Regions from separate parts of the Homo sapiens genome. Here all the other regions are linked to region 1. The links are contacts of gene promoters, found by promoter capture Hi-C in blood cells and fetal thymus (Javierre and others, 2016). All regions are on one chromosome and are shown on one strand. The core of a region is centred on a gene start or on the middle of the fragment in contact, and the rest is flanking DNA. Distances in the headings are between cores, read along the strand shown.

Region 1 (6,070 bases), core at 1,302-3,801:
ACACATGTGAAAACAAGCATGCATTAAAGTTACATAATTTACCAAGGTCATATAGTGAGTTTGAAGCATGCCTAGGTAGGAAGCCAACTGTCTCTGCCTGTCTTAAGCTTCATAGCCTTCTTTTCTTTTTTTGAAATTTACACCAAGTCTGCAGAGGAAGCTCCAAAAACAAAGATTTGAATGTCTGTCAGTGGGAAAAGCTAATCAGTGGGATTCAGCAATAGATTCACTGAGGAATCTAGAACCTTTTCCTAGCTAGTTTGAGAATGCATATTACCACCTGGCTGGAGCAGAGAGCAGGGCCTTCCCCTGCCTTCTCCTGGCCTTTAAATCCCTGCCCAGCAGGCACAGAGCCATAACTGCAACAATGGCTTCTGCTGCACGTTTGTCAAGATTTGAGAAAGGGCTCATTTTGGGAATCCTGAGTGAGAAAATTCCCAGATCAGTTCTGTGCGTCTGCTGTGAATAGAGGCAGGAGAGATATTTCAACCTCACAGGAGCACGACTGTTTCAGACAGAGTATCAGAGAGTTCATAAATATGATGGGTTTTAGAAAGTGGAAAGACATCAATTTTGCCTGGAGCATTGGCCAGAAAAAAAATCGCATTATGTATCTAAAATTCAAAAGGAACATAACACCAACAACAAAACCTTTTGTCTGCCTTCCAAATGTTAAGTGCTATACACTTCCTCACCAAACTCATCAGAAATTCAAATAAACTGTTTGATCTATTCTTTCTCTGGCAACTGACATTTATTTTCACATACTCCCTGATCTATGCAAGTCTCTCAGACACACACAATAAAAATCAGACTTTATTTATCAGACATTTAAGGTTTTTCCCTCCAGGCTCCAGTAGCCTGAGAAAATCTCTAAGTTTGCCCTCTCTGCAGACTCACCACCGTCTCCTGCTCTACCCTCCTCTGATACACAAGAGGAAAACCCATTAAAGGGTATTGTACAACTCCAGGCATCCTACTCTCTCTAATCCACTTCTCTTATTTCAACAATACCCAAAATATTGCCGCCGGGCTCTCAATGAGGGTCAATTCAAAAGACATCCTGTGGCCACAGCAGTGAGCTAGCTTCCACCTGCAGGGCGGGCCCAGTAATGCTGGTGTCTGAGAAATGACAAGGAAGGGCCATTTACCGTCCCTCTCCATCAGAGAGAGGTAGCAGTGGCAGCTCGTTTGCTGGAATAAAGGATGCATAACTGGCCACATAAGCTGCTTCCACACTCCTCCTAGCAACTCTTCATGCCATGCATAATATCACAGAGCATAAAATTGCAGAGCCCAGCAATGAGGCCTCCAACCACAGCCTCAGGGATGGCGGCATGGTTCTACCACCTCCCAACCACATGGCTCCATCCACAAGAGAAATGGGTGAGAAGCCTTTAAGATAGATGTACATTGTTTATAGCAGAAACTCTGGATTTTTCCTCTCCTTAGATCTTCACCAAACATAACTTAATTCCCGCTGAATTAAGCGCACCTGAACACAACCTTATCTTCCCTGCTGCTTAACACAGGCTACCAGCCGCTTACCACAGTAACAATCTTCCAGCAAAACAATGCTGGAGTGCGCGCTGTGAGAGTTAGGCTACTCAAATGTTACGCTCCCCGCACCGCCGGCGAGGGGACAAATGACTACTCTGATGGATTCGGTAGCCCAAGGAAATTATCGCTTTCGGAGGGATGGCGGCAGAGCAGGTCGGGCATGCTGCATTTGCCTGAGTTGGACCGCGTGTGAGCGAGCTTACGCTCCCCGCGGGCCAGGCCCAGCTCCCGTGCTTTCTGACAGGTGAAGTTGAGCATCCTTATCAAACCCTCGGGAAGAACAACGATCCCATTCCACATCAACGTGACTGGAAATCTCAATTTAAGAATTGGATGCACCGGTCGGTCCACCTGGGGCTTGTCCAGCTTTCCATCTTACTTCGCGCCTCTGATGTGTCAGGCTTTTTGCACAGATAGCTCACATATTTAACCCTCAAAACACCGTTTCCTGAAGCGATGCTCAACCAGGAAAACTTGCCCCAAACTGCATGATCATCTTCCGTGGCTTCTCTTCCCGAATCCCTGCTCTGTCCACCAGGTGCGGCCCCGCCCCGCATCCGCACACACCTTTTCCGCCGCTGCCCTGAGCGCAGCGACAAGGGCCCCCACACCTCCGCGGCCCGCAATGCTCCGGGGCCAAGCCGAGGCAGGGAGGCGCTCCCGCAGCTCCTGACTTTACAACCCGCGCGCGTGTGCACCGAGCCGCGGGCACACCGCGAACACACACACACACACACACACTCGTGCGCTCCCGCCCTCCGCCCGGCCCGGGCTCTCCGAACTTACCTCCGAGGCGCCCCGGGCGCAGGGCCCGCCCTTCTCTGCGGGTCTCCAGCGGCTGTTCGGCAGTGGTCCGCACGGCCTCCGATGCCGCGCCTCCGGTAGGCTCCAGAGTCAGCTGGTCACTGTCACCCGGCAGCCCGGATTCCGCGCCCAGGGTTGCACCCCGCGGATGGAGCGACTTTCGCCTCCGCCGCCCGAGTCCAGGTCTGCGCTCACACGCGCGGCGCTCACACGCGCGGCGCCCACCTGGCTGCAGTCCCGGCCAGGGCCAGCGCGCCGCGGCTGAAGGGGGCGCTCGGACTCCTCTGGGGCGGCGCGCAGCCGGGACAGTCTCGCATGACGCCCGCGCTCCAGCGGCCCCGGGACGCGGCCTCACCCTCAACCCCTGGCGGTCTCAGCCTCGGTCTTTGTGTCTCGGTCGGCGTCGCCACGTCATGGGCTTGCAGGCTGGGAGCAGCGCGGGCCGGGAACGCGGCTGGGGAGAGCTGGGCTGGGCTTCTCCACCGCCGCCCGCCCGGGGCGCTCAAGCTGGCGGGGCGCACGGGCAGCAACTGAGCGCACCCTGGGGGACCGAGGGGGCGGTCCCGGGGAGGGGCGCGGCGTCGCGCCAAGGGGGTGCCCTGCCAGAGGCTGCGGCGGAGGAAAGTGGGAGTCAGAGCGCCGCCGGAGCCCCGGGAAGGCGGTGTCCGTTCGGTCCCAGGTCGCGGCTGCAGCGCCGAGGGGAAAGCGAGCGGAAGCTGCGCGCTGGAGGGAGCCCACCACCCGGAGCCACCCGCGGGGTTCGCGTCTCCCCACTCCCCTATGCTGAAGGTGACTGCGGCCCCCAGTGGCAAGCAGGGGCGAAGAGTGTCCTCGGCTCTCCTCTTCCCAGGGAGCACTCGGGGCTTCGGACTCTGCAGTGGTTTGCAAGGCCAGGGCCAAGTGGTCACTTCACTCACTGATTTCTTCTTTTGGCTGGTGTCGGCTTAATTGGGATCCAGATTGGAAAGACTGTCACGTGACCACCCCTCCCTGTTTCTCTCCCCCCCCACACACACACACATACTCACTCATTCACACACCCCCAAACCCCACGAAACTGGGATGGGTTTCCAAAAGCTTACTGGATACATGGATCAGAAATGGAGGCCTTCCGTGTCACCCTGTGTGCTGGAGTGGAGCCGAAACACAGCAGCTGCCTCTGGTGGCCCCATCTAGACAGATCCTGTCCCTGTGGCTGGGGAAGCTCACGTTAACAGCACTTTGCATCCCCAAGACAAGAACAACACAAACAAAAAGGGTGAGGGAGGGAATCATAGTTTCGGGGCCATGGAATCTCATTTCAAAAGGAAAGCAACACCCCCACCCCCACCACCCCACCTCCTTCCCTGCCACCGAGTTACCGAACAGAGCTGCTAAGGAGCATACCTCCCCAGGGACAGAGCCCTCTCGGGGGCTGTGGCGGCTTTTCCCTGGCCAGCTTCTCCCTGACATTTGCTACCTGTGATCGGAGCAAAGGCCCTGGGGGGACGCAGATCTCAGTCTCAGCCTCCCTCAGCTGTCTGGATGTGGGTGGCAACAACGCTTTAAAAGTGAACTTGCAGCTAGTCCCAAGATTCATTATCTGATTCTATTTTTTGGTGCATGTTCAAATTTTACCTAATAAAAAGTTTTTTAAAAACAAAACAAGCAAACAAAAGTGAACTTGCTAATAAATGGATACTTTAAATAACGCCCTATCAGGGTGATACGTGTTGACAACTAGATTTTCCCAGAGCTCCTCTCTGCCCAAGTTTTTAAAATCCATTTGCCTTTATTACCTTATTGTGAGGCAAGTTCAAACCTATTCTAGTAAGGGCAAACGGATTTGAAAATGTAAAGTAGGAGTGAAGTTTGTTTGATTCACTGTACCTTGCCTAGTGATTTTAAATTTGTAAGTAGTGCTGGCTCTGTCTTTGGGTCCCAATATTGTTTGTGGCAAAAGGGAGCATAAGCTTAAGGAGTAAAGGGGGTCCCCAGGGTAAGAAGCCTGTTTGGTAATAGCTAAAGACTGTTTGGGGGCCTCATTGTCCTTTGAGTTCAGGGGCAGATTATTTGAGACCTGAACAAGTATATATTTCTCCCAAAACCGAGAACAGTTGAATCCACATGGAACAATTAGGACAGGAAGCTGCGTGGGATCTGCCTTTTCTTTTGCTTTGAGTTCTTCTTTCCTGTTTTTTCTCCTGTTTCTTCATGAAATACTACCACAGAGACCACATTCTAGAAGGAAAAACCATAGCTTCCTGAAACTCAGATTCAGTAAAAATCTGCTTTTCCCTCCCTTAGTTCAGCTGAGGTCGGCTAGAGGTTTATTTAATTTCTTTCTGAAATAACCCTTTTGGAAAACAACTTTTAAAATTTGAAACAGCATAAAAGGAAAATGCAGATTAGAGCTTTCTGATCCTACAGTTACTCAGTTCCAGCCAGAGTTGGCTAGTGGTGTTTACAGACACAAAGGATTCAAGTGGTTGCCCTTTTCCCCTCCTGGCTACTGATTTCTGTAAGCCTGCCCCAGAAGCCCTCATTCAAGCCTTGGGAGGTATTCCTCTCACTTGTGGCCACTCACCCCTCCCCAAGTGGACACAGATACAGTAACACCTCAGCCAGGTGCTGTCTCCTCCTATGCCCCCCTCTCTGGGAAGAGGCTGGAACTTGGACTCCCTCTCCCGTTGCACACACGCACAGTGGACATCTTTGTGCACAGCCCATCTTCCCCACCTGGGGAAAAGTGAAGGTTATTTGTCTGCACTACTCACTGCACCAGAGTGATACTAAATTATATTCACCATTTATCTATGGACCCAAGGCATTCAGTTTGCAGGGGCTGGGGGATGACGCGAATTCATGGCACCACCCTCCCAGGATAAGTAGTTTAAAAAAATGTTTTGGTCTGGGCAATAGAAAGAGACTGACGATGAGATGGGAGACTGTGCACCAGATCACGAAGACAAGAATAGAATAAGCATCCAGAAACTATCCAGCCTCCACATTTTCCTCTGTTTCTAGTGGTGTCCCACTCAGATCCGAAATTTCACTTCATAATATCATTGGCAATGGTGTGAAAACCCAATGTGGTGTAAAAGAAACAGCCTTGAGTTTGGAATGTGAAGACATGGTTTTAGACATTTGATAAGTGATATAAACCACCTATGTGAACTTGGACAAATCACTTGACCTGGTTTTGGTCCTCTAGCATTTAAATGGAGGGTTCTACTTAAATTTAATATTTGAACCCAGAAACATGGACGGTTTCCATCTTACAGGATCGGAGGTTGATTATGAAACCTAATAAATTGATGAGGTCCATGTGATCCAGTCTCAATAAGTGTCCTATTCAATGAAACATAGTCCAGCAGCCAAGAGAAATGTATCATTAATCAAATCCTTCATTTGAACTTCTTAGAGACTAACATCCTCCTCTCTCTCTAAGCCCTTCTTATCTCAGCTGCTTTAAAGCTCCTCTTTCTCCAGTGCCCCCCAAATTCTCTCTAAATACATAACACACATCTTTCTTCATCTCTCCTTTCCTACCTCCTCTCTACTTTTCTGCATTGTGTAGAGCTATGCATTTTCTCTCTCCTGTCTTTAGGGGAGGGAAGGGGAAAGGAAAACTGTGGGCAAAATCAGAATTCTCTTTAGTGATAGAGGTAGGGGAGAAGACTGTGACCACTGACACATTAATACTTTTTAATCCATCATAATCAGA
Region 2 (6,070 bases), core at 2,513-5,012, 430 kb before region 1:
TATTCATGAGAACTGGACATATTCCTGCTGCTGGATTTGTTCTTAGCCATTAGCCTCTCGAATGCCACCATCGCTGTCACAGAGACCAAAAAAAAACAAAAAGCTGCTCCTGTTCCTCCTCCTTAAAAAAAAAAAAAAACTTATAAAATTTCAAACTGCAGTGACTGTTTTCTCTCTTCCCTCACCTTAAAGAGGTTTAGGTTTGCCTGCTATTGGTAGTTCTGATGGGCTCTGTTAGAGATTGTGTGGTTGGTGTTCAGGCCCAGATGAAGAAAGAAGGGAATAGTTTAAATTTGCTACATTTTGTTTTGCTTGAGAAAGATGCAGTAAACTGAGGGGAGAAGGGAATAAGCGATTATTGTAGGCACCTGCCGGAGGGAGCTTTGCCACTGTATGAAGGATTTATTTTCTCCATGGTTGGTTTTTGTCAGCATAGCCCAGTATTTGCAGGGGCAGAAGATCCAAACATGGAGCCTTTGTTAGGATTCATGGCCATACCCACATTTTGCCTAGCACACTGCTGAGGGTAAGCAGGGATGAGGGCTGAGGTGGTCTTCCTCGTTAAATCAGCTTTGCACTAGGTGTCTGAGGCCCAAGAAGGGTCAAGATTTGCTTTTTAGCAACTTGCTGCCCAGAGACCCATCGTTACGATACGTATACCTGCTCCTCCTGGCTGGGGGCTTGACTGCAGTTCCACACTGGTTTCCTTCCGGCTCTTCCCAAGGCAGCCATTTCTTTAACATGTATTTCATTATCAAATTCCCTTTTTCCTAAATTATATCTTGCAGAAATACCTCGAAGTTTCCGACTTAGATATGGCATTCTTTCCTGGTTTCTAATCATAATAGACATTTTTCCCAAGTTTGTTTTCCTTTGTTCATTTCACTGGAAATGAAAGTAGAAAGTCAAATATTTGTGCTAAGGTCTTTATCTTGAATTTTAAGACTTATATTTAAATAATGACAGTTTTACAAGTTCAGGTACATTTCCACTTCGTTTTCTTGTAATAGAAATTGTGTATCTTTATGGATCAAGGTTTTCTTTGTAAAAACAGTGGGAGTTACATTATTGATAACATTTTGAATTTAACCTTTTGAATCTGCAAAAGGTTGCTGTAATATTTTGTTTCATTGTGAACCTCTCCCCTGAAACAAAGAGAAAACACATCACAATATTTGGAAGTTTGCCTGGAGTGAACGTTTATTTTTTTGGGGTGTTTTTCTTTTTGACTTTTTAAAAAACAGTTTTTGTTGTTTAAAAAACTGCAAATGCCAGCCATAAAAATATTCTCTATTCCATCTGCCTAAGGCCAAAAAGAAATCAGAATTAGGCAAATGAAAATCAGGAGCTGAGCCCAGTGATCAATTATGTCCACTCTGCCTTTTTCTTTTCCTTTCTAAAGTGTTGTATTTGTTCACTCACTTGTGTAACAAATATTCTGAGAGTCCTACTGTGTGTGACACTGTGCCAAGCAAGGGGGTACTAACTTGTCATAAGCCTGGACCCTGCTTATGAGTCAAGTTTCTTACACTATATTGAAGTAAGCACCAGAAAGCGTGTACAGGTCTATGAAAGCTCAGTTTCTGGACATTTACTCTCAAGGACTTTTTTTTTTTTTTTTTTTTTTTTTTTTTTTTTGTTGAGATGGAGTCTCACTTTGTTGCCCAAGCTGGAGTGCAGTGGCGCAATCTAGGCTTAATGCACCCTCCACCTCCCGGGTTCAAGCGATTCTCCTGCCTCAGCCTCCTGAGTAGCTGGGACTATGGGCGCGTACCACCACACTTGGCTAATTTTTGTATTTTTAGTAGATATGGGGTTTCACCATGTTGGCCAGGCTGGTCTCAAATTCCTGACCTCTGGTATTTCGCCCACCTCAGCCTCCCAGAGTGCTGGGATTACAGGTGTGAGCCACCGTACCTGGCCCCAAGGACTTTTTGTACAGAGACAGTGACATGGGTAAATTATTAGTAGCTACCCTTTGTCTACTAAGTGCTAAGCCTTATGCTAAGTGCTCTTACATATGTAAGCTTATTACTCATCATGACTATGTTATTATCTCATTTTCACAGTTGCAGAAAGTAAGTCTCAGAGCATTATTTATGGGCATGCCACAGTCAAAAGGCAGAGCCAGGTCTTCCTGCCAGGTCTGCTTTCCCCGAAGGCATGCTGTTTGTGGGATGGCACACGGTGCCTTTCCTTACTGCCGTCATGTGCTGTGGAGGCGAGTAAAAGGAGGGCATGCTCAGGTTATCAGTTAGAATCAGATTCGGCTGCATGTAGCAGAAAACTCCAAAGTATCAGTGAAAACTTCAAAATATCAGTGAGATGCTTGGAAAAGAAGTCTGGGAGTTGTATTTATAGTCTGTGGCTGTTGTACAGGCCCCACAGTCATTAGGGACAGATCCTGCCGCATATGCCATATGGTCCTGCCTGGTATCTCAAGCTTCGGCTATCAACTCTGAATTGTAGTCAGCAGGAGGAAAGAGAGGGTGTTGGGAGAAAAAGAGCATCCTTCACCTTGAAAGTCCCATTTGTCAGAACTTAGGCACAAGGTCATACATAACTACCAGGGAAGGTGAGAAATGTGGTGTTGCGGTGGGATTCATGGCCTCCTGAGTAAAGTTTTCTGCTACTAAGGAGAAAGAGAGAATGATGTCCAGATGGGCAACCAGCAGCCTCTGCTGCATTCAGCTCAAGGCAGGTTGTGATTTCAGTTGGTGTCATGGCCTGAGCTGAGGCTGGAGGCCCACGTTGTGAAGGGTATTGTATGTCACACATCTGGGATTTGAACTTTATTTTGTAGGTGCTGGGAGTTAGTTATTGAAAGACTTTAATCATAGGAGTAACATGACTAGTTCTATGTTTGGGAAAGGTTGTTCTGCCAGAAATAAGGAGGACAGGCTGTCCCAAGGGACAGCCAAAGAAACTGGGAGTGGACCATCCCTTGGGAATCTGATGGATTCGAATGGATGAGAAATGATGACCACTTTTAGAAATGGAGAGGATAGAACAAGTTCTGACATATGCAGCATGTAGAGTCTCCAGGCCACTTGAGGCTGTTGAGGGACAGTCTGGCTTTGCCATCTGCATGTCATGCTCTTAACCTAGGCAAAGAATGCAGAAGAGAGAGGAGATGTAGGGGGTTGGGGGACACATAGTGAATCCCGTTTGAGGTGGCTCCAGGACCTCCCAGAAATGCTGGTAGATGGCTAGTTGGATATATAGCTCTGGAGGTCAGGACATAGGAGATATTGATTCAGGACTTGCCAGAGTATGGTCTTGGGGTGTGCCCTGATATTACAAACAGGGATCTTAGTGGCTAGGTGATGAGGCCATGGCAAATGTAGATGGACCAAGATCAATTTGCCTTTCTAGATGAGGTTTTCTAGGTGAAATGTTTTTGAAACTATTTTGTAGCCTAGTATAATTTATAAAAGTAGAGAGAAACTATAAATATAAATTTGGAAGGGGTTAGCTAAAAGGAGAAAACAGCAGAATCTTCATATATATAGAAATGGATATTAATTTGCTAGAATTAAGAGACTGCAGGTAAAGATAGTTTTTTTAATACCTCTTTTTGCTGTAGAAAGGACAGGATAAAATGATAAAGGGATGCTGGAATGAGGAATGGTAACTTTAGGCAAGATAGTCTTCTGTGAGGGCTGATATGATCAATGAGAGTAAGACATTAGAAATACAAGAATTGTCCTGCTGCTCACCCATCAGCATTTTCAGTTTCTCCTTGCAAAAGTAGTAATTAACTTTGTACTTTGAGCTGTATGTTCAGTTAGTGATAAACCGTAGATAAAAAGCAGATTTAATTGGCTGACCCCAGGTAAGACTTGCCTCTCTCATGTACCCTTTGAAGGTTTAACAAATAAAATTTGAGGGAAAGGTTGATGTTACTTATAGGGTGTGTTAGTTAGTTTTTTGGGGGTGGGAAGGAGGCATATTTATGTGCAAGCTGCCAAATATTTGAGATAAGGACATAGTCTTTGAATGAAAAACAGGGATATGAGAGGATTGATTCAGTTAGCCGTCTTGGCCAACCCAAGTTAACTGTACTTCATCTTAGTCTATGTTGGTGTTAGAAACAACAAAAAGGAAAAAAAAAAGCCAAACAGTAGAGCAACAATTCATTCATTCATAAAAGTAATTACATGCCATCTAACTAATCACATGGTAAATAATTTAAATGGTTTAGAAGGGTATGAAAGAAAAAGTCCCACCCCTCTTCTTCCCAGCCTGTTCCCCAGATGTGACCACTGTTAACATACTTGTGTATCCTTCTAGATATATATATTTGTATCCTTTTAAAAAATTTATACAGATAGGATCGGAGTTCACATTTTGTTTTGCATCCTACTTTTTCACTTGTTGATAAACCATAGAACTCTTTTCATAGCAACACATATAGATTTAGCATAGTGTTTTAAGTGGTTACATAGCATTGATGTGCTCTAAGTTATTTAACCAGTCTTCTGTTGATAGCTATTTGGGTTGCTTCTGTTTTTTAGGTATTACAAATAAAAATAAAAAAGAACATCCTGATAGATATTTTTCTGCATAGTTATGCAAGTAAGTCCATGGGATCAACATCTATCCATGAAATGGCTATGAATTCTAAATTTTTATAGGTGTTTCTGTATTGCTTACTAAAAAAGGTTATGCCACTTTACGTACTCATCACCAACACATGAGAGTATGTTGACCTCTCCCTGAGTGAGTGAATGGCCGAAATAACAAATGAACGTGCATTAATGACTACCAGTTGTGTGGTAGCCTCCATGTGATGCCCTGGAAACAAAAAGATAAATAAGGGGCAGTGGTGTCTGGCCATAGGAGTTCACATTTTGTTGGGGAAGACAGGTGTATGGAGGGGGACGATGGATAAGGAGTGGTTAGGATCAAGGTTTTGGTCTTAGGTGGAGTTGAGTCTAGTTACTGACTGCTGCATACTAGCTGAGTGGACATGAGTAAACCCCTTCACCTAAGCCTCTGATCATTTGAAAATGAGGGTAATAATATCTGCTTCACTAGATTGTTTTGAAGATTAAATAGGAAATTTACATAAAGCTTTTAGTACAATGCCAGTGCATATAAGTGCTTGATGATGATGATGACGACGATGACTATTCCACATGAACTAGTGATTTCAGTCCTGGTGCTAAGGATCCCATTGGGATGTGCCCAGAGTGCTCTGGGAACACAAGATGGAGATTTCTCTTTGCCTAAAGTGCATGAGAAGGCTTCAGAAGGGAAGTTGTAATTAAGTCTTTAACTTTGAATAGTGGTTTGCCATGAGGTTGTATCAGAAGGAAACATACCCCTTTTAATAAGTCTCTCAAGAAAGTACACTGTAACCGGAAACCTCATTAATATATTGAAAAAGTTATTCTCAGAAGAAATTCATTGTGGGCATCTGTGTGAATTTTCAACCTTGGAAGTAACTTAATTTTGTCTTATCAGTATTTCTGGTTTTGTTTTGAAGTACTAATCAAAAAAAAAATCCTTAAATTTTAATTTCTCCTTGCTTCTTTGAAAAGTTATAATGGTTAAAATACACTACTTATGAAAATTTCAAAATATATACTAAGCTTTCTAAAATGTTTTTTAACCTTTCTAATTCATCTTTTGTAAAGTGCTGTTCTTTGCCCCATTTCTTTCCGGGAATTTATCTTTCTCTTGGTATTCATTTATTTTTTTCCAGGTTGGTAACAATTCTTTATATATTAAAAGATTAACCATTAGTCTGTCATGTATGCTGCAAATAATTTGTATCCATTTTTTTTTTTTTGAGATGGAGTCTCGCTCTGTTGCCCAGGCTGGAGTGCAGTGGTGCGATCTCTGTTCACTGCAAGCTCTGCCTCCTGGGTTCACGCCATTCTCCTGCCTCAGCCTCCCGAGTAGCTGAGACAACAGGCACCCGACACCACACCCGGCTAATTTTTTGTATTTTTGGTAGAGGCAGGGTTTCACCATGTTAGCCAGGATGGTCTCCATCTCCTGACCTCGTGATTTGCCCACCTCGGCCTCCCAAAGTGCTAGGATTACAGGCGTGAGCCACCAC
Region 3 (6,070 bases), core at 1,173-3,672, 410 kb before region 1:
TGATCAGTGATGTTGAGTATATTTTCATATGCCTGTTGGCCATTTGTATGTCTTCTTTGGACAAATGTCTGTTTAAGTCTTTTTTTTTTTTTTTTTTTTTGAGACGGAGTCTCACTCTGTCGCCCAGGCTGGAGTGCAGTGGCGCAATAGCTCCACCTCCCGGGTTCACACCATTCTCCTGTCTCAGCCTCCCGAGTAGCTGGGACTACAGGCGCCCTCCACCATGCCTGGCTAATATTTTGTATTTTTAGTAGAGACGGGATTTCACCATGTTAGCCAGGATGATCTCTGTCTTCTGACCTCATGATCCGCCCGCCTCTGCCTCCCAAAGTGCTGGGATTGCAAGCATGAGCCACCGTGCCCATCCTGTTTAAGTCTTTTGCCCAGTTTTTAATTGGGTTATTTGGTTTTTTGCTGTTGTGTTCTAGGGGGTCTCTGTGCCTTTGACCCCAAATCTCCATGCCTGTACCTGGTGAACTCTACACTCATGTCTTCTGCTACTCCTCAGGTTGATCCTTCTGTCCAAGCGAGTAAACTGCTCCCCACTCCCTACTCCCTCACTCAGCTCTTGCCACCTTTCTTTTGGTTTCTGAAAGATACTTAGACCCAACTCTGACACATCTTAAAAATCCAGGTCAAGTTGAGTTTTCCATGAATTCTTCCCTGACCACCCAGCGTTTGCTCTCCCCCTGCTGGGGTCTCTAGTATTTGTCCCTGTTGCTTTTGGGGCATTTGGCAGAGACTGCTGCCGTGCATTGGAATGGAAATTACATGCGGTTATATTTTGTACTAACTGAACTGCCATTTCATGAAGGGAAGAGACTGTGTGTCCTCCAGAGGACCTTACAGAGCACCTTGCCATACTGTAAAGAGGCAGGAATCCTTAGAAAGGTTTGCGCATTGTGTGTTCTAGGTATAGAAGACAGAACTGAACTTCAAGCCTGATGGTGCTCTGGCAACAGAAAGAGGACACGAGGGAGTAAAGTCCAAATTCACAGTCCACTGTCAATCCCAAGAGGGACAAATGAGCTGGACAGGAACAGGGAGGAAAGACAGAGGTCAGTGACCAGGACCTTTTTAGAAAGTTGGGATTGGAATAGACAAGGAGGTTTACAGGGGAAGGTCATTACTGTAATCTGAGGCATGCTTTGCTGGATTTTGGCAGGCAGGGGTGACCAGGTGTATGCTGGGAGCTAGAGAGAAGCTGAGTTCACCTCACAGTTCTGCAGGTAGTCAGAATATCTGCTGATAGTGGGGGCTAGCCATGTTGGCAGTCTGATCCTCTCTACTCTGAACATGCTGTTCTGGAGAATTCATGGCTTCCAACCCTGGTATATCTTGCCAGCAAATGCTATATGAATGGTTATTCCACAACTAAGCTATAGGTCACCCAGAAACCCCCAGGACAGCTGTCAGGAGGCCAAGACTCAGTATAAGGAGGCTACAGGGCAGACTACTGGGTTTGACATGTAATGTGGCTCTTATGCTGACACTGGTACCCCATGTTTCTTGCCAGAGGCTGGAGTACCATTCCCTCATGGAGGTTCTTCACCTAGTGACCTTCATTGCCATCTTCATGGGAATCCCCACACACCCTTACTGCAGTTGGGTTTTTATAGCCTCCAGGACCCTGCCTCCCACCCTGAGCTCCAGCATTCTGTCCTGATAATGTCATAGCCAGTTCTGGTCTTCGTGTTACTTGAGAGGGTTGTAGCCAGAGAACTAGTTGTGGGTCCCCATCTTGTACCTTTCCTTGAGTAGGTCAAAGCCTGCTCTCACACGAGTCTGGGGAAGCCCGGCAGCCTGGCCTTGCCTCTCCAATGGGAGGGGAAATGAGGAGGGAGTAGGCTGTCTGAACTGCTTGGTATGCCTGACAGTGGACTCTCTTTCTGCTCACTGACCCTGAGAAACAGCTTTGTCCTTTATGGCTCCTCCTTGACTGTTTCCCGCCCTCCAACTGTCATTATCCTGGGGTATTGATTTCCAAACCTGACAGGTATGGAGAATCACCAGGATGCTAGAAAAAAGAGGGCCCTATCTCTGGAGATTCTCTGTATTTAACTAGTTATGAATGAGGCCTGGGAATCTGGCACTTTTGTACAGATATATGTAAAAGATCTGTTGAGGATGAATAAGAGACTTAACTAAGTTGCTGAGTACGTTTTATTTCCTTTTTTGTCCAACTCTGTGCTTTTTGGATATTAATGGTCACACATTGTTTTTAGAAATCAGAGAAAGAATTGATGTCATTACAAAACAAAAAACACATCCTGAAATGATCTTTCAGAAACAATTAATCCTCTTAAATTTGTTCCTCTTTTCCGCAGGGGGACTTGATCTCATCTTCATGCCAGGCCTTGGGTTTGACAAACATGGCAACCGACTGGGGAGGGGCAAGGGCTACTATGATGCCTATCTGAAGCGCTGTTTGCAGCATCAGGAAGTGAAGCCCTACACCCTGGCGTTGGCTTTCAAAGAACAGATTTGCCTCCAGGTCCCAGTGAATGAAAACGACATGAAGGTAGATGAAGTCCTTTACGAAGACTCGTCAACAGCTTAAATCTGGATTACTACAGCCAAATAATCAGTGTTTTATATGAGAGTAAAGCAAAGTATGTGTATTTTTCCCTTGTCAAAAATTAGTTGAAATTGTTCATTAATGTGAATACAGACTGCATTTTAAAATTGTAATTATGAAATACCTTATATAAAACCATCTTTAAAAACCAATAGAAGTGTGAATAGTAGAATATTAATTAAAATGGAGGCTATCAGCCTGTGATTTTCAGCTTAACTTCCTGGTGTTAATGTGACAAGTTGATCTGTCTACTTTGCAATTTAAGTTAAATATTTATGAGGAACTGTGCTCCGACTGAGTGCGAGAGGAAGGTAAACTTGCGGGAGTGGGCACTGTATTTCATTACGCCTTTCATGACCTGGTCTGTCCTGGCAGGCACATGGAGACTTGGGGACTATTAATTTATTTGTTGGTATTTGCTTTGGATACAGAATTCCCTAAGAATATTATCTCACTTCATCATGACTTCCTTTACCCACTCTAGAATTTTATGTTGGACACTTTGTAGCTTTTGGTGGTTAGTGGAGGGAAACCTTTTATGATTTAAATACTTTTACTCCACTGATTGGTTACCATCACTGCATGTATCAGCCCTTGATGAGTTTAAGATCTAGTATCTTATAAGTTAGAAATTATTTCTGTTTACTCATGGTTTCTGCTTTGGAAATGAAATTTGCTGTGAGTTGAAAGTTGGCAGATGGCAACACAGCTAGGGAGCAATAATTTTGTTGTGGGGAGGATTTGGTCATCTCCAGAAACCCGGGAGTCACGTGGCTCTCTTACTCACACTCCATGTCCATCCTGTCACCAGGTCTTGTTGATTTTGCCTCTGAAATGCCTCTTAAATCTATTCTCTCCTTTCAATTTTCCTGTCACTCCTTTTGTCCAGCCTTTTAGCATTTCTAAGCTGGACTAGGCGAGAGTGTCACACCTGCTTCCCTTGGCTTCCATCTTGCCTCTTCCAGTTTATTTCTCAAGCTGCAGTCAAACTGATCTTAGAAAACACGAATCTAATCATGCAGCACCCCTGACTAAGGTCTTCCGGTGGCTGTTCAGAGCCTCTTGGGTAGCAAACAGATGGCTTCTGTTGTATACAAAGCCCCTTAAGAGAGGTCTCCTCATCTACTTTTTCTAGCCTCTTCTCTCCCAACTCTGTATTCTCCTGTAACACTGACTGAGCACTGCAGGCTTCTGCCCTTTGCACATAGTAAGCATGCATTTCTCTCTGTCTGAAATGCTCTTTCTGTTGTTCATCTAGAAGACTGTTTTCCCTTGAAGACTCAGCCCTAGCATCACCTCTTCTGTGAAGTCTTCTGCTACTTTCCCAAGCAGAGTGAGTGTTCCTTCCCTTGTCTGAGTGGCCTTGGCCATTGATGTGCTTATCATGTTGTCTTACGTATCAAATTATTTGTTGTCATATCTGTCCCCTTCACCATACTGTGAGCTCCAAAGAAAAGAAGTGATCTTTATACTTCTTATGCTTAGTACACAACTAGACATATAGTGTGTGTGTGAGAGAGAGAATTTTTTAATGAAATAATTGAATACATTGGAAGTGTTTCATTCAAAATACTCATCCATTATTCTTTGGATAGTAGCATAAATTTGATGTTTTATGTACAAAAGTAAAAACATTTGAAAAATATCAGGCTGAATATGGGTTTGTACAATATAATATGTATGATGAGGAAAGGGAAGGAAACTGAATTCTCAGAAGCTATGAAGTCACATTATTGTACTGGTTAAAAATATTGTTAAGTATTATTTCGACTATAAGGTTAAAGTGAATGTTAATGTAGCTGACATGACTGTTGGTGTGAAATGGTAGAGCAGTAAAATTCCTGACCTGCTGCAGGTCTAGAAAGTTTGGCATTGTTGAACTTAGTCTATGTTATTCTTCTGTTAAATGAGAGCATTTAAAAACCACTCTACCAGCTCCTCAAGTGCAGACAGAATGCCGAGTTAACTGGCCAGAAAATGCAGGGTGCTGAGATTCAGGAAAGTCAGAGGGCCACAGGATCTCGGCCTGAAAAGAGAAGCACTCCCTAGTGATCACTAATGCACAGTAGTCTTTGTGCAGGGATATTGGAAGGGAGAAAATGCCCCTATGATGTAGGTGATTACAACACTGTAACTCTGATTAGGGCATACACAGAGGCTGAAGACAAGGCCTTAGACTCAGGAGGCAAGCACTTCAGTAGAGGCTAACATGAAGCAAGAATGATGAGCGTCTCAGATGAGGGGACAATCTGAGTAGAAGAGAAATAGCAACTAGATCTGCACAAAAACAATTTCAAATATTGGGAAATTGGAAATATATCAGGGCCCCAACATAGGTCTGTGTTTGCTGTATGTACTATAGAACTGTGCTTAATTTAATTAGAAAGTAAACTATATAAAGTTCTAGTCAAGAGCATTATACACTTAATCACAAAGTCTTACTAACTAGGAGATTGATAAATGTGACTAGGCGTGAGTGTCTTGCTGCAGACAGTTCCTGGTCCCAATTTTTTTTTTTTTTTCCTGCAGAGATCATTGAAATTCAGTTGATCACACTGCTCTTTAGTCATATGTTTACATGCTTAATTTCTCCACTACCCTACAATCTCCTCAAAGGCAAATTCTCTGCCAAGTTCATAGTTTATTCCAGTATCTACCACAGACACAAAAAATAAAGAGCCAATAAATTCTTTTTTTAGTTGTTCCAGCAACATTTATTGAATATGTAACTTTATGTCTGTTATAGATTAAGTTCTCCAATATATGTGAATCTGTTTGCTGGCTTACTTCATTGTCCCTTTGTTATGTTTTTCTGTCTCAGCACCAGCCCCACATTGCTTTAGTTCTCATAGTTTTAAGTCTTGATGGCTATGAGGGTAAGCCTCCTTCCTAATTCTTCTTCAGGAATGCCTAAGAGCCAATCAATTCTTGATGAAGGAATGAACCAGTTTGAATATTGCCCTGCCTGTGCTGTGCACTTGCTCATTTTTATGTTGGTTGCTGTTTGCTGCTGAGATTCTGTCCCCTTAGCATTGTCTCAGGCTTGGATTATCCCAGAACAAGTTTTCTATTACTGCATTGCGTTGTGTTGGGCAGTCCATGTGTGTGTGTCACATTGTCTTTCTGTGCTACTTTTCCTTCTTAGTGCTCTCTTGTTTGCTTTTTAGGGTTGTCTTCTTCCCTATTCCTGGATGATTGTAGACCTCCTGCCCTTTAATGGTAGTTGCCAATCCCTGTAAGCACCTACCCCCAAATATGTTTATTTATATGCTTAAAGTAATAATAAATTTTTCTGAGTAATAACATACACATTATAAAATATACACACAAGAAGTATGAGATAATGTTGAAATAGAATATATGATATATAATTTATAATATACTTGTTTATATATATTTTATACATATATAAATAAGTGTAATATACTCATTTTTAAAAAGAGCAATATGATCAAGAGCAGCATGAGATGATGTTGAAGTAGAATATGTTAT
Region 4 (6,070 bases), core at 2,624-5,123, 390 kb before region 1:
GAACACTGCGGCACACTGCGGGCCGGCAGCACAGCGTCACTCTGTAGACTGAGCCTCCCAGCTTCTCGGGAGCCGTCCACGGTGCAGCCAGCCACTATGGGACACAGTGCCTAGGTCTTTCCAAGAACAGTAGAGCCCACACTTATCCCCTCCCATGTCAGCCACACTCTGGAGCTCACATTTGGAGTAGTGAAAGGCTTTCAAAGGTATTTAATCTCACCACAATCATGAGATAGGTATGAAAACCCTCTTTTCCAAATGAAGAAATTGACCTCCACAGGAGGGAAGGAACTTTGGTGAATCCACAGAGTGGAGTGGCGGTGCTAGGGTGATTACCTAGGGGTCCAGTTCCAGTTCCTGTTCTCCTTTTGCTCCATTGGGCTTATCCCATCACCAAAAACAGTCTAGAGCCGGAGATGTTAAAGAAGCCACCCTTTGACCTGCAGGGTAAGTGTGTGAGAATTGGTGGGTGGGTGGGGATAGGGGAGTCAGGTTTGGGCAGTAGAACGGAGGAGTAATGTATACTCTAAATAGGTTCATTTCCTGACTCCCCCACTTATCTGTGTGACCCTGTATATGTCACTTAACTTCTCTGTGCCTCTATAAAATGAGGAATGATAATAATATCTACCTCATAGGTTTGTGGTAAAGGTTAAAAGAGATAATGGATCAAGCATTTAATACAGTATAGTAAGTTGGATAAATGGTATAGAGTTGGGCCCACTTTTGGAATCAAAAGGAATTTGTAAAAGTGCCTCACACATGCCTGTCCTGTAGAGGTGAGCAAGTATTTTCAATCCCTTCCTGATATCTTTCCTGTGGCTAAGAATCCTTACAGGCACTTGGGACCCCTGCCTTCCTTGCTGTGGACTAGGATGCCTGTAGGTACCAGGTTAGAAGAGTTGCTTCTTGGAATTGCCATGTGACTGTACAATGTGCTATCTGTGGCCCTGCCATTGATTCACAGTATAACCTTGAGCTGACCTCAGTCTTACCTGGATGGGCCTCTGTTTCCTTAGTTATAAAGGGATAAGGACAGAGCTACGTTTGAGGAAGTGTAGTTTGTGAACTTCTACATCAGAATCAACTCCATTGTTGATGGCTGAAAATGTTGATTCATGGGCCTTGCCCCAAGTTGGCTCAATCACAATCTCTAATGGTGCTCTAGAATGTATATTTGTAAAAAGCCCTCTCCACTTGCCCCATGCCCTGGCCTAACTCTCAGAGATTCTGATATAATTGACCATTAATACATAATGAAAGTAAATAATGGATTAATAAATTAAAAATTGATTTACTTTTTAACTTTGGTTGTTTTTAAGATTTTCCCATTTGTTTTTGTTTTTTAGCAGTTTTACTACATGTGCCTAAATGTGGTTTTCTTTGAACTCCTCTAGGGTTCATAACACTTCTAGAATCTGTGATTTGATACCTTTTGTCAGTGTTGGAAAATTCTCAGTCATCATGTCTGTAAAAATTGTTTCTGACCCATTTGTTGTTTTCCTCTCCAGGACTCCAAGTACATGTATGTTGGACCTGCTTGCCATGTCCCATTATGTCCCATACATGCCCCTCTACTACCACCTGTATTTTCCATTCATTTTTTCCTCTCATTCTTTCAGTGTGGATATTTTCTATTGACCTATCTCTGAATTCACTAATCTTTTTATCAGCTGTGTCTAGTTTGCTATTAAACCCATCTATTTAGTTCTTAGTTTTAATTATTGTATTTTTCAGTTCTAGAATTTTCATTTGATTTTTTAAAATAGATTTTAACTCTTTGCTAAAATTAATTTCTTGGACATATTAATCAGTTATTTTGAAAGTCTTTGTGTGATCATTCCAACATCAGAGTCTCCTTAGAGCTTTTTCTTTCTATGTCTATTTTTTCTCTTGGTTTCTGGCCTTGCACATCTCCCAATATGCTTCATAATTCATTTATTTAAAAAAAGTTTGTTTTTTTTTTTTGAGATGGAGTCTCACTCTGTTGCCCAGGCTGGAGTGCAGTGGCGTGATCTCTTGGCTCACTGCAACCTCCACCTCCTGCATTCAAGCGATTTTCCTGCCTCAGCCTCCCAAGTATCTGGGCCTACAGGCACATGCCACCACTCCTGGCTAATTTTTTTTTTTTTTGTATTTTTAGTAGAGACGGGGTTTCACCACGTTATCCAGGATGGTCTTGATCTCCTGGCCTCGTGATCTGCCCGCCTCGCCTCCCAAACTGCTGGTATTACAGACATGAGCGCCACCACACCTGGTCTTGTTTTTGTAACTTTTTATTGAATGTCAGGCATTGTGTATGAAAAACTGAAGAGAGAATTTGAGCCTCTGGATGATGCTATTTTCCCCTTAGAGCATTTACTTCTTTCTGCTTTTGGAAGTCAAGATAGGGGCAGATTGTTATAATCCAGTCTGGGATTGAGCAGATTTGAAGCCAGTCTTTAGTTTTTGTGAATACTGGCTTATTTGGGTTAGTCCTTATTCCCAGGCTTCAGGAGTTCCTTCTGAAAGCTTGGGTTGCATACCAGGGCCGCTCCTTTTTGGTGATGGCTGCACTATTTTTGTTTCCCCAGGATGGTGGGGCAGCAAAGCTCTGCTTAGCTTTGTAGACTCCTGGCTGCCAGTTTCTACTTCATTTCTCCTCTTGGCTTCTTCACTGATCAGTTTCTACAAAGCACAACTTCTCAGCTTTTAAGTTTTTCTTAAGAATCAACAAATGCTTTGAGGCAAAAAGCTGTGCCAAATATCAGGTTCAGTTCTGTGCTTTCTTTCTCTCTGAGATCTTGGTGCCGTAAGACCTCACCACATTTGATAGCTCTCTGATGCGTTCAAACAGGGCATTTCTATTTGTTCTTGGTAGTAGAGTTGATCTGAATATATTAGCCTATCAAAGGCAGAAATGGAACTCCCTGATAGTGGTTTTTAATCTCTTTGGGTGATTTGAATGTAAGATGCACTGGACAAAATCAACTCCTTGCCACATCATAAGAACCACCTTAGTCTGTTGTTTAAAAATGTTGATTTTTCTGGTCCTATCCTAGATGTACTGAACCAGAATTTCCAGAAAAAAAAGACTGATTTGTTGTGCTAGCAAGTGCTTCTGACAAAGGCACACTTGAGAAGCACTGAATAAGTGGCTCTTTAGAGTCCTTCTTGCTCTGGTTGCATATTCTGGTGACCCTAGTGACCCCACCCACCCAATGAACCCTGTATATATAGTGGCAGGAAGGAGCCTGGTTATTCTGATATGCAGAGGGGCAGCATGCTGCCTTTACCACCACCTTCGACTTTAGTTTGCATTCTGTAACTCTCTCCAAAGAGAGAGTGGTAGCTCTCTTTGCTGAATTATTTCTAATTTTTTCCATGGACATTTTAATCAGAGATGACAAATGACTGGTCTTTTGCTAGCAGTTCAATCTAAGAGGAAGTTATTTGCCTCTTAGAGGTACATTAATTTGCGATGGCTTTCATGCAGAAGGCAGAGGGATATTGTGGAAAGGGACTTGGATTCTGGGAATCAGGTATAAGCCCAGGGTACTTGGCTTGGGAATTGTAGTAGTCACTTGCCCCTTCCCTTCCTCCCTCCACTAATGTAAGTTTCCTTTGCCTGCTTGAGGGTATCTCCAAATTAGGTTCTTTTCCAGCTGCCAGTGGTAGGACTAGAGTGCAGTTCTGACCCTGGTCTCTGGAACCCTTTCTCACCCCTGCTGGCTCCTCTCCAGTGGATTCCCCACTGTCCTGCACCAACTCCCTCCCCTTCGTCTCTCACCCACCTCCTTTTCTCCTTTTCTTCTCTTGTCCTTCCCTTCTCTTCTCCTCACCTCCACCCCAATCTTCTTTCCCCCGTTCCAGAATCAGAACAGAGGCAGTAGTGTCCTGTTGTGGACCCTCCCTCAACTGCTTCAGCCTTCTCCAGGACCAGCTGTCAGCAGAAGTGGAGCTCATGCAGGAGGGCAAAATGGTCCAATTCCTTTTCTCAGGGCTATCTAGCAAGACCAGTTCCTGTGGTTCTCTCTGGCTCATGTGAGGATGCTTCCCACTTTGGAGGTCTATGGTTGTCCTAGTCCGTGGCTACCCAGTAAGTGCTACTCAAATCAGTAGGAAAACAATGAAGTGTGCCCAGTGGTAAAGGGGCAAAGGACATAAACAGGTAATTCACACAAGAGGAGACACAGATAGCCACAAATATAAGAACTATTTAATTTCACATTTCATCAAAGAAATGCAAGCTGAAACCATGTGAGTAGTAAAAAATAATCAAACCAGTTAAGTTTGGGCTATGATGCAGGGAAATGGACACTCATACTGCTGGGAGAGTGTATGTTTTTTAGTCTTTCTGGAGAGAAAGTTGGCAGAATATAACAAAAATCTTATAATTTTCTATGACTTTTGACCCTGTCATTCTACTTTCAGGAATTCATCCCAGTGAAATAATGTATGCGATTTGCAAAAGTTCTATACAAGTATATTCAGCATGAGGCTGTTTTATTGTAATAGTGATGACTGCTGCTACCCAGTGAAATACAACCATACAATAATAAGGGGTTGCTACATTCATGCCAGTTGTACACTCTGTTGTCATTAAAAACATCATACACAAATATTTAAAGAGGAAGAATGTCCAAGCTCTTTTTTAAAAAAATAAAATAAAAGCAGTGTATCACAATAATTGTATTTTGGTGGGGAGGAACCAGCATAGAAAAAAGATCAATGGATGCAAAATGTTACCATGTCTGTCTTGTGTGTTTTATCATACACAAAAATCTAAGTAATATGATTATTAAAAAAGAGAAGAAGAAAACAAAAATACTGATTCCTAGCATGTAGGAAGACTGGCCTGCATTCTAGTCCTGAATTTGCCTCTTGTTCTCTGTGAGGCTTTGGACGGGTCACCTTGGCTCTTTTGATGGGCAGTTTCCTCATCTATAAAGCAGATCTGGCCACGCGTAGCAGCATTCATGTCTGTTCAGTGCTTTACCAGTCCCTTTGCTAACCATTGTTTTACTTTGATCTCACATCTGTGCCTTGTAGATCAGCACTTTGTGGGCTGTTGGCTATTTTACTATCACTTGATAATTCGGTATCTCCAAATTAGGTTCTTTTTCCAGCTACCAGTGGTAGGACTAGAGTGCAGTTCTGACCCTCGTCTCTGGAACCCTTTCTCACCCCTGCTGGCTCCTCTCCAATGGAGAAACTAACCTTATTTTCATGTACTGTGATACAAAGAAAAGCTTCTTAAGGGTTATTGGAAGGCAAGCATTTGAAGGAACTAGAGTAGCCTGGCTAATGACCTGGTGCAGTGGCTGAGTTACAGCTGGTCTGGAGGGCAGATGATCCACAAGGTTGGGTCTGGGGTCAGTTAGTAGTTGAGGATGGGGAGGTTGGGAGCAGGTCAAGGCGGGACCGGAACAGGCCTAGGAGAAGTGTTGAAAAAGCCAGAAAACAGTGATTGAGAGAACTGCTCCAGGTTGAGGGGATGCTCTAGGAGTGGTAGCTTTGCTGGAGGTTCAGCTCAGGGTCCTGGAGGTCAGATACCAGGACTTGGAGGCCTCAAGAAAAGAGTGGGGAGCCAGCCCAGCAGGGCTTAGCTGGGCAAAGGAGAGACGTTTTTAAGGTTGTGAGCAGGCATGACAGGCACTACTGGAGAGCCCAGAAACAAGGATTAGGCACGTGCAGGCTTACGTGCAAATTGCAAGTCTGCATTTCTGTAAAACCGACAACAATGGAAAATGTGTAATAGATGGACCAATCTAAAGATAGTCTGGAAAAATGACCTCACTTAAGGAAAAATCGAGCAGTTAACTTCCTGCTCACTAGCAGGTCGAAGCCTAATCTTTAAAACTGATGTCCTTATCTCAGAGCTCCCTAGGTGATAATATTAGCCCTCACTGACATGGTCTATCTTCTCCGTAAATACCTTTCCCTCTAACAACAACAATAAAAATGTAGCTTTCTAGCCCACGGGGCTGTTTTTTGTTTCCTAATATGCCCTGAACTGAACTCCTTGGTTTATGGAAGAAGCTCAATGTGAAACTGCAGATCGACTCTTTTATCACAATCCTTTTAATTA
Region 5 (6,070 bases), core at 1,202-3,701, 370 kb before region 1:
TCAGGAGGCTGAGGCAGGAGAATCACTTGAAACCGAAAGGTGGAGGTTGCAGTGAGCTGAGATTGTACCACTGCATTCCAGCCTGGGCGACAGAGTGAGACTCTGTCTCAAAAAAAAAAAAAAAAAAATTAAATGTAATTTCAGACTTAGAGAAAAGTTGCATGAATAATACCAAGAATTCCAAGATACACTTTGCCCAGATTTCCCAAATGTTATTATTATTATTTTTTAATATTTGCTTGCTTTCTCTTTCTCCCTGGCCTCCCATCTTTGTTTCTCTGTGTTTTCACATGGTTCCTTTCTGTATAGGCCAGTTTCTCTGACTCTCTGGTTAAGCACCGTTTAATTATAACTAGTAGCTCTGAGTTCCAATTTCAAATGGCTGGAGAGAATTTAACCGGTTCAGGTTAGGTTGGGTATCAGCCCCTGACCCAATCAACAGTGATCTTATTGTGTGGTTCTTTGAGAATAAATCATGGATGCATTTTCTAAGGATGAATTAAAGGGTAGGAGAAGAAACAATGAGTATCTGTTCTATAAAATATTAAATTATTTGAAACATTACAAGTATATATAGCTTTCCAAATGAGTACTGTTTTCTTACAGTTACCCGGAGATGCCAGATGCCTTTCCCCAAACCTATGTACTTATTTTATTCCTCACCCTAGGACTTGTCTTTGGGGAGCAGCTTTAGGGTCAGTTACTTTTCACTAAAAGAAAATCAGTATCTATTCTTAGTAGTCACACTTCCCTCTTTACTAAAGCGTGGTACTTTTTCACTTTTAATTCCTCGTGACAAAACCCAACTGGATATCTGAGAGTGCAGTTGGCTGTGGGCAAAACTGGGTTAAAGGCCGTAAACACATCTCTCTCCATCTCTTAGCCAGGGTTTCTCCATGTTGCAGCCCAGAATTCCCGCTCTGTCGTTCTCTCGGGGACAACTGGAATCTAGAAGTTCAAAGGTACTGTCATCTCTCTCTCTCTTGCTCTCTCCCTCTGTCTTATTTTTTTTTCTTTCTAGTCACCCCATACCCTACAGACAAGCCTTCTTAACATGGCTGTCATAGTCACTGGCAGCCCCAAAACCTGCAGTCTATGTTAGCCAGAATAATGGCCTCCAAAAGATGTCCATGTATAATCTCTGGAACCTGTGACTATGTTCCATTACCTGGCAAAAGAAACTTTGCAGATGTGATTAAGAATCTTGAGATGGAAATATTATCCTGGATTATCAGCTGGGTGGGTCCAATGTGGTCCTTATAAGAGGTGGGTAAGAAAGTTGGCTGTGTGTGATGGCTCACAACTGAAATCCTAGCACTTTGGGAGGCTGAGGTGGGTGGATTGCCTGAGCTCAGGAGTTCAAGACCAGCCTGGGCAACACAATGAAACCCTGTCTCTACTAAAATACAAAAGAAAATATCTGGGCGTGGTGGTGTGCACCTGTAGTCCCAGCTACTTGGGAGGCAGAGACAGAAGAATTGCTTAAACCCGGGAGGCAGAGGTTGCAGTGAGCTGAGATCATGCCATTGCACTCCAGCCTGGGTGACAGAGCAAGACTCTGTCTCAATTAAAAAAAAGAAAAAAGAAAGTTGAAGGTGGAAGAAGGAGAGGGAACAATGAAGCAGAACTTGGAGTAATGCCCTTTGAAGATGGAGTAAGGGGCCACAAGCCAAAGAATTTGGGAAGTCTCTAGAAGCTAAGAAAAGTGAGGAAAAAGATCCTCCTCCAGAGCCTTTAGAAGGAACCAGCCCTGCTGACACCTTGAATTTAGCTCGCTGAAACTGATTTCAGATTTCTGGCCTTCGGAACTATAAGAGAATAAATTCAAGTTGTTTCAAGCCATGAAGTTTGTTGGAATTTGTCATAGCAGCAATGGGAAATTGAGATACAACCTGAAAAGAAGAGAGACCTTTTTTCCAACATTGATATGCTAAATCTAACAGAGGTTTTCTGATTTGCCTTACTTGGATCATATACCCACTTTTGGAGCCAGACACACTGGACAGAAGCATGAGGTAGCATGAGTGGCCACCTTGAACTCAGGAGTCAGAAGAAGTACTTGTATTTGGGTTGGGGAGAGCCCATTCCATCACAGACAGAGAGTAGCTGGCCAGATGAGAGGACAGGTGTGCTCTATGACCCACTCTGACCTCCCCCTCCCAATGCAACCAGCCTATGCGCCAAATGACTGTTGAAAATCAACTCCATTCTTCGAGGACAAAGCCTTGACTGCAATGAGAACATTCAGAAGATTGTGCTTCAGGTTCACAAAGCTGTTTCTAGGGAAGACTATTTTGTGGTCTCTAGAGCACATATTTGAATGGAACAAGCTTCATTTGCATATGCAAGATTGGATATTTCCGTTGTAAATTTTTTTTTTTTTTTTTGGTCAAAAGGAAGTTCTGGGTCTATATTCAGAGCCTGCCATGTGCCAGCTTGGTAAAGTCTCTGAATTTCAGTTTTCTCATCTGTAAAATGGAGATAATTATACTTCCTTATGGGTTATTGAAAGGATTAGAAAAGGCGATTTATATAAAACCTAGCACTACTTAAATAACATACGCAAAGCTTAGCACAGTTGTTCAATAAAGAATTGGTATATTTGTCTTGTTCTATATATAAAGTAATATGAAATTAGTTTGTGAAAGTCAGACTGAATTGTGAGTGAGCTTGAGTTGTTAAAGCTATGTATCTCAGTACATAGATTACCATGAACAGGCATAAAATTTATTGTACCTTCTATATGTATATGTAGTGATTTTTTTAAAAGCTAAAAATCCTAACTCTTTTTTTCCTCTTCTTGTACCTGCTCAATTCTCTGTGGAATTTTTAGTGTTTTACCTGTTTCACAGAGTGTGATTGCCATTCGGCATTTGTGTGTGTGTCATTTGAAGAACATATGACTTTTCTGCTAGAGCGTAGATTCCGTAAGGATTGGAATCATGTCTGCTTTTTCTTACCGCCGTGTTCCCAGCGCCTAGGCCAGTGGCTAGCCCATGGTAAATGCTCAATAAATATTTGTTGAAGGAGTGATGTGCAGGGATTAAAAACAAAAGAAAGCTTGAGAGAAAACCAGTAAGGAGGCAGATGGGAGTGGCCAACACTGCTGGATGCTGCCAGGAGGGCAAGTATGATGAGGCCTGGAAAAGTGGGCTTTGGACTCTGGCAATCTGAAGGTCACTGGTGATCTTGATGAGAACAAAGTCATGGAGTGATGGAGGCTGGAGCTGACCCACAGCAGGCCGAGAGCAGAGTGGTAGGAAATTGGAGGAGTGTGGATGAATCTTCCTAGAATGGCAGGTGGCCAAGAACAAGCCACCCAGGACAAAGTTTACTCTTCTCCTATGGACACAAGTTTTCACTGTGAGCAGGGATCTCCTCCTTACCTACCATTTCCCCTGAAGCACAGCCCCAGGAACCTAGTGAATCTTCTCTGTTCCCAGTGGAGATGGGATACCAGCCTTTTGTGGTTGTGTGTACCTGGGATCGCCATACTGCCCTGGTGTATTCCTGCTCCTGGCTTTGTGACAACCCTCTGCTGATTGCTAGCAAGTGACAGCCTTGTCCTCAAGCACAGGTGGTACTCATGGGCGTGAGCAGTCAAGGGCTCTGGAGGCAGCCCAGTGCGCAGTGCTTCTTATCAAGGAGGCTAGTGTCGGATCCCACACCCACCGAGGGTGCTAATGTCCTGGGAAGGGTGGCACTGGGGTCTAGCTGGCCACCTGGAGTTTCTGTCAAGGTCTAGAACAGGAGCAAGTAAGAGTTGATGTCCACTGGTCACTTTCATATAAATACATTTGTCATTTAGAGGCAGGAACTCAGGATCATTTCAACTCTAAGGTACTGGAATTATCCAGACCCATGTTTGTATTTAATTGAATGACTTCTAGATTCACAGACCTTACAGATTTATCAAGTTCAGCATCCCCTGCATATCATGTGATGAAATCCCTGCAAAATAGCCTCAATCCTCTGACTCAGCACTTTCAGGACCAGGGGCCTCCCTGCTTCCCATGACAGTCAATGCAGTCTTTGGATTACTCCTCAACTAATGTTTCTGTCAAGCTCTATTTTTCAAAAATAGTTATTCCTTAAAAATAAAAAAGGCTTTTCCTCCTTATATTCTCCCTATTGCCTTTTCTTGAGCGATCCCTTCTTTCGCAATAGAAACAGAGCTACAGAACATGTGGTTGTTGAGGGGCCTCAGTCCATACCATTCACACCACGTGATTCGTATGAAGTTGGCCCCCTGTGTGCACTATGAACAGGCCTCTTTCTTTGCATGAAGAATGTCTGTACTGAGTGAAGGACTGTGGAAAGAAAAGATAGGTAGAAGCCTTCTAGACTGCTACGCAGTCTAAGAAAAATTTGGCAAAACTGTTGCGGAGTCCTAGAGCTACAATTAGACATTGGAGGGCTCACCTTAGTAGCCCTGCTGCGCTTAGTCAGTGGCTGGAAGTGGCTTTGGGAAGGTTTACCTGGGCTCAAACATGATAATATATTTCAAAGGCAGCCAGAGTCCTTGGTCAGTTGTTCTCCTTGTAGTTGGAGATCTGTGAGATGAATGCTCATGGCCACCATGTCACAGTCTCCCCTTCGGTGTCTGGGACAGTCAACAGCCTTGCAATAGGGAGAATAAAATGTTGGCCTTGTTCTTTCTGTAAAAGGGTGTTGTTGGCCACAGATATGCTCATATTTAGATCTAGAGTTCAGCTTTACCTGTACCTTACAGTGAGATGTTGCCTTTACTGAACTGTCCTCACCAGGAGAGAAAACTGCTACTTGCAGTGACTTTTTTTTTTTTTCTGGTGGCCACAGTTATGTGCTTATTAGCTCAAACTAGTGAGGAATGTAGAAAAATCACCACATACATGGTACATTTTGGTTCAAAGGGGCTTTCCATCCATTATCTCATTTGATTCTCAGCAAGACCTTGTGAAGTTGGTAGTTCAGGGGACCCCCATTTTACACTTGGAGAGACCAAGACTTAGAAAAGTCAAAAGAGGCCGGGCACAGTGGCTCACGCCTATAATCCTAGCACTTTGGGAGGCTGAGGTGGGTGGATTATGAGGTCAGGAGTCTGAGACTAGCTAAGATGGTGAAACCCTGTCTCTACTAAAAAACACAAAAATTAGCCGGGTGCCGTGGCGAGCGCCTGTAGTCCCAGCTATTTGGGAGGCTGAGGCAGGAGAATCACTTGAACCCAGGAGGTGGAGGTTGCCATGAGCCGAGATCGCACCACTGCACAGCCTGGTGACAGAGCGAGACTCCGTCTCAAAGAAAAAAAAAAAAAGTCAAAAGGACCAATCAAAGTCAATCAAAGTCACATGGTCTCTAAGTGGAAGAACTGGGACTCAAATCCAAGTGTCTCATTCCAGATCCTGGAATATTTCCGTGATAACCTGCCTTGGTGGAAGAGGACTTGGGAACAAGTAGAAAGGACTAGACTCCTCTTCCCGTCTTTCTGTATCTGGTGGGATTGTGAACAAGGAATATAGTTTTATATGGCCTTGATGACTTTTATATGGCCACTTAGTTTTAGATGGCCTTAATGACTCCAATGGGCTGTGCACTCATGGCAGCCTCAGTTGGCCAAAGAGGACACCTACTCTTCCATCTTCTCAGCAGCTGCACAGAGACAATTGACGTCTAGCAGCCTAGGGAACTGAGCATGGGAATCTCTTTGTACAGTCAGACGCATGTAGTGCTCTTCTCTGACTCCAAACCGAGGCTATTTAGGACTATTCACTCATTACCTTACTGCATGTCTTGCATCAGAAATCCTAGTTTGCTGCATAAGATAGCAAGGACTGTGTCTCCTCCACTTTCTCCTCGTGGGTTTCCACACACCTGCCATTAATGAACTGTATTTCCAAAGCTCAGGTTCTTTGTGTGTGGGCTCAGCTTTTCTGATTGCAGTGGGTAGAGTGTGGCAGGGCAGGAGGGGAAAGAGGTTGAAGAGATGGAGAGTCTGAGAGTTTGGAGTCAAGCTCCAAAGATTAATCCCAATGTGAGAGGCCTGTGGTCTTCAACTCAGAAAAGAGAAAGCCTCTTTCAATCCCTTCTTGTG

The links. The method cuts DNA at HindIII sites, captures the fragments that hold promoters and counts their contacts. A CHiCAGO score of 5 or more calls a contact.
Region 2: a contact is called between a fragment that was not itself captured here and the fragment with the promoter of MINAR1 in region 1, in 1 of 17 cell types (endothelial precursors). The highest score is 5.7, in endothelial precursors.
Region 3: a contact is called between a fragment that was not itself captured here and the fragment with the promoter of MINAR1 in region 1, in 1 of 17 cell types (endothelial precursors). The highest score is 5.4, in endothelial precursors.
Region 4: a contact is called between a fragment that was not itself captured here and the fragment with the promoter of MINAR1 in region 1, in 1 of 17 cell types (endothelial precursors). The highest score is 5.1, in endothelial precursors.
Region 5: a fragment that was not itself captured here is called in contact with the fragment with the promoter of MINAR1 in region 1 in 1 of 17 cell types (total B cells); the score reaches 5.2 in total B cells.

Annotation. Positions count from the first base shown.
Region 1 is chr15:79,428,817-79,434,886 of GRCh38, reverse strand. MINAR1 (membrane integral NOTCH2 associated receptor 1) reads right to left here and starts at 2,551. Exons shown (of 4, transcript NM_015206.3): 1 at 2,347-2,551. The HindIII fragment of the contact is 3,334 bases long and covers 110-3,443 here.
Region 2 is chr15:79,860,116-79,866,185 of GRCh38, reverse strand. The region is part of intron 3 of ST20-MTHFS (ST20-MTHFS readthrough); the gene reads left to right. All of the region lies in intron 2 of MTHFS (methenyltetrahydrofolate synthetase), which reads left to right. Among named protein-coding and RNA genes, the nearest start is that of MTHFS, 34 kb to the left of the region's middle. The HindIII fragment of the contact is 2,633 bases long and covers 2,446-5,078 here.
Region 3 is chr15:79,841,700-79,847,769 of GRCh38, reverse strand. It overlaps ST20-MTHFS (ST20-MTHFS readthrough), which reads left to right. Exons shown (of 4, transcript NM_001199760.2): 4 at 2,328-4,223. The coding sequence ends at 2,560. MTHFS (methenyltetrahydrofolate synthetase) reads left to right here. Exons shown (of 3, transcript NM_006441.4): 3 at 2,328-4,223. The coding sequence ends at 2,560. Among named protein-coding and RNA genes, the nearest start is that of MTHFS, 52 kb to the left of the region's middle. The HindIII fragment of the contact is 8,304 bases long and covers 1-6,070 here.
Region 4 is chr15:79,824,112-79,830,181 of GRCh38, reverse strand. It overlaps LOC124903536 (a long non-coding RNA gene), which reads left to right. Exons shown (of 2, transcript XR_007064730.1): 2 at 1-6,070. Among named protein-coding and RNA genes, the nearest start is that of MTHFS, 70 kb to the left of the region's middle. The HindIII fragment of the contact is 2,720 bases long and covers 2,514-5,233 here.
Region 5 is chr15:79,802,969-79,809,038 of GRCh38, reverse strand. No RefSeq gene overlaps it. Among named protein-coding and RNA genes, the nearest start is that of TRC-GCA5-1, 61 kb to the right of the region's middle. The HindIII fragment of the contact is 238 bases long and covers 2,333-2,570 here.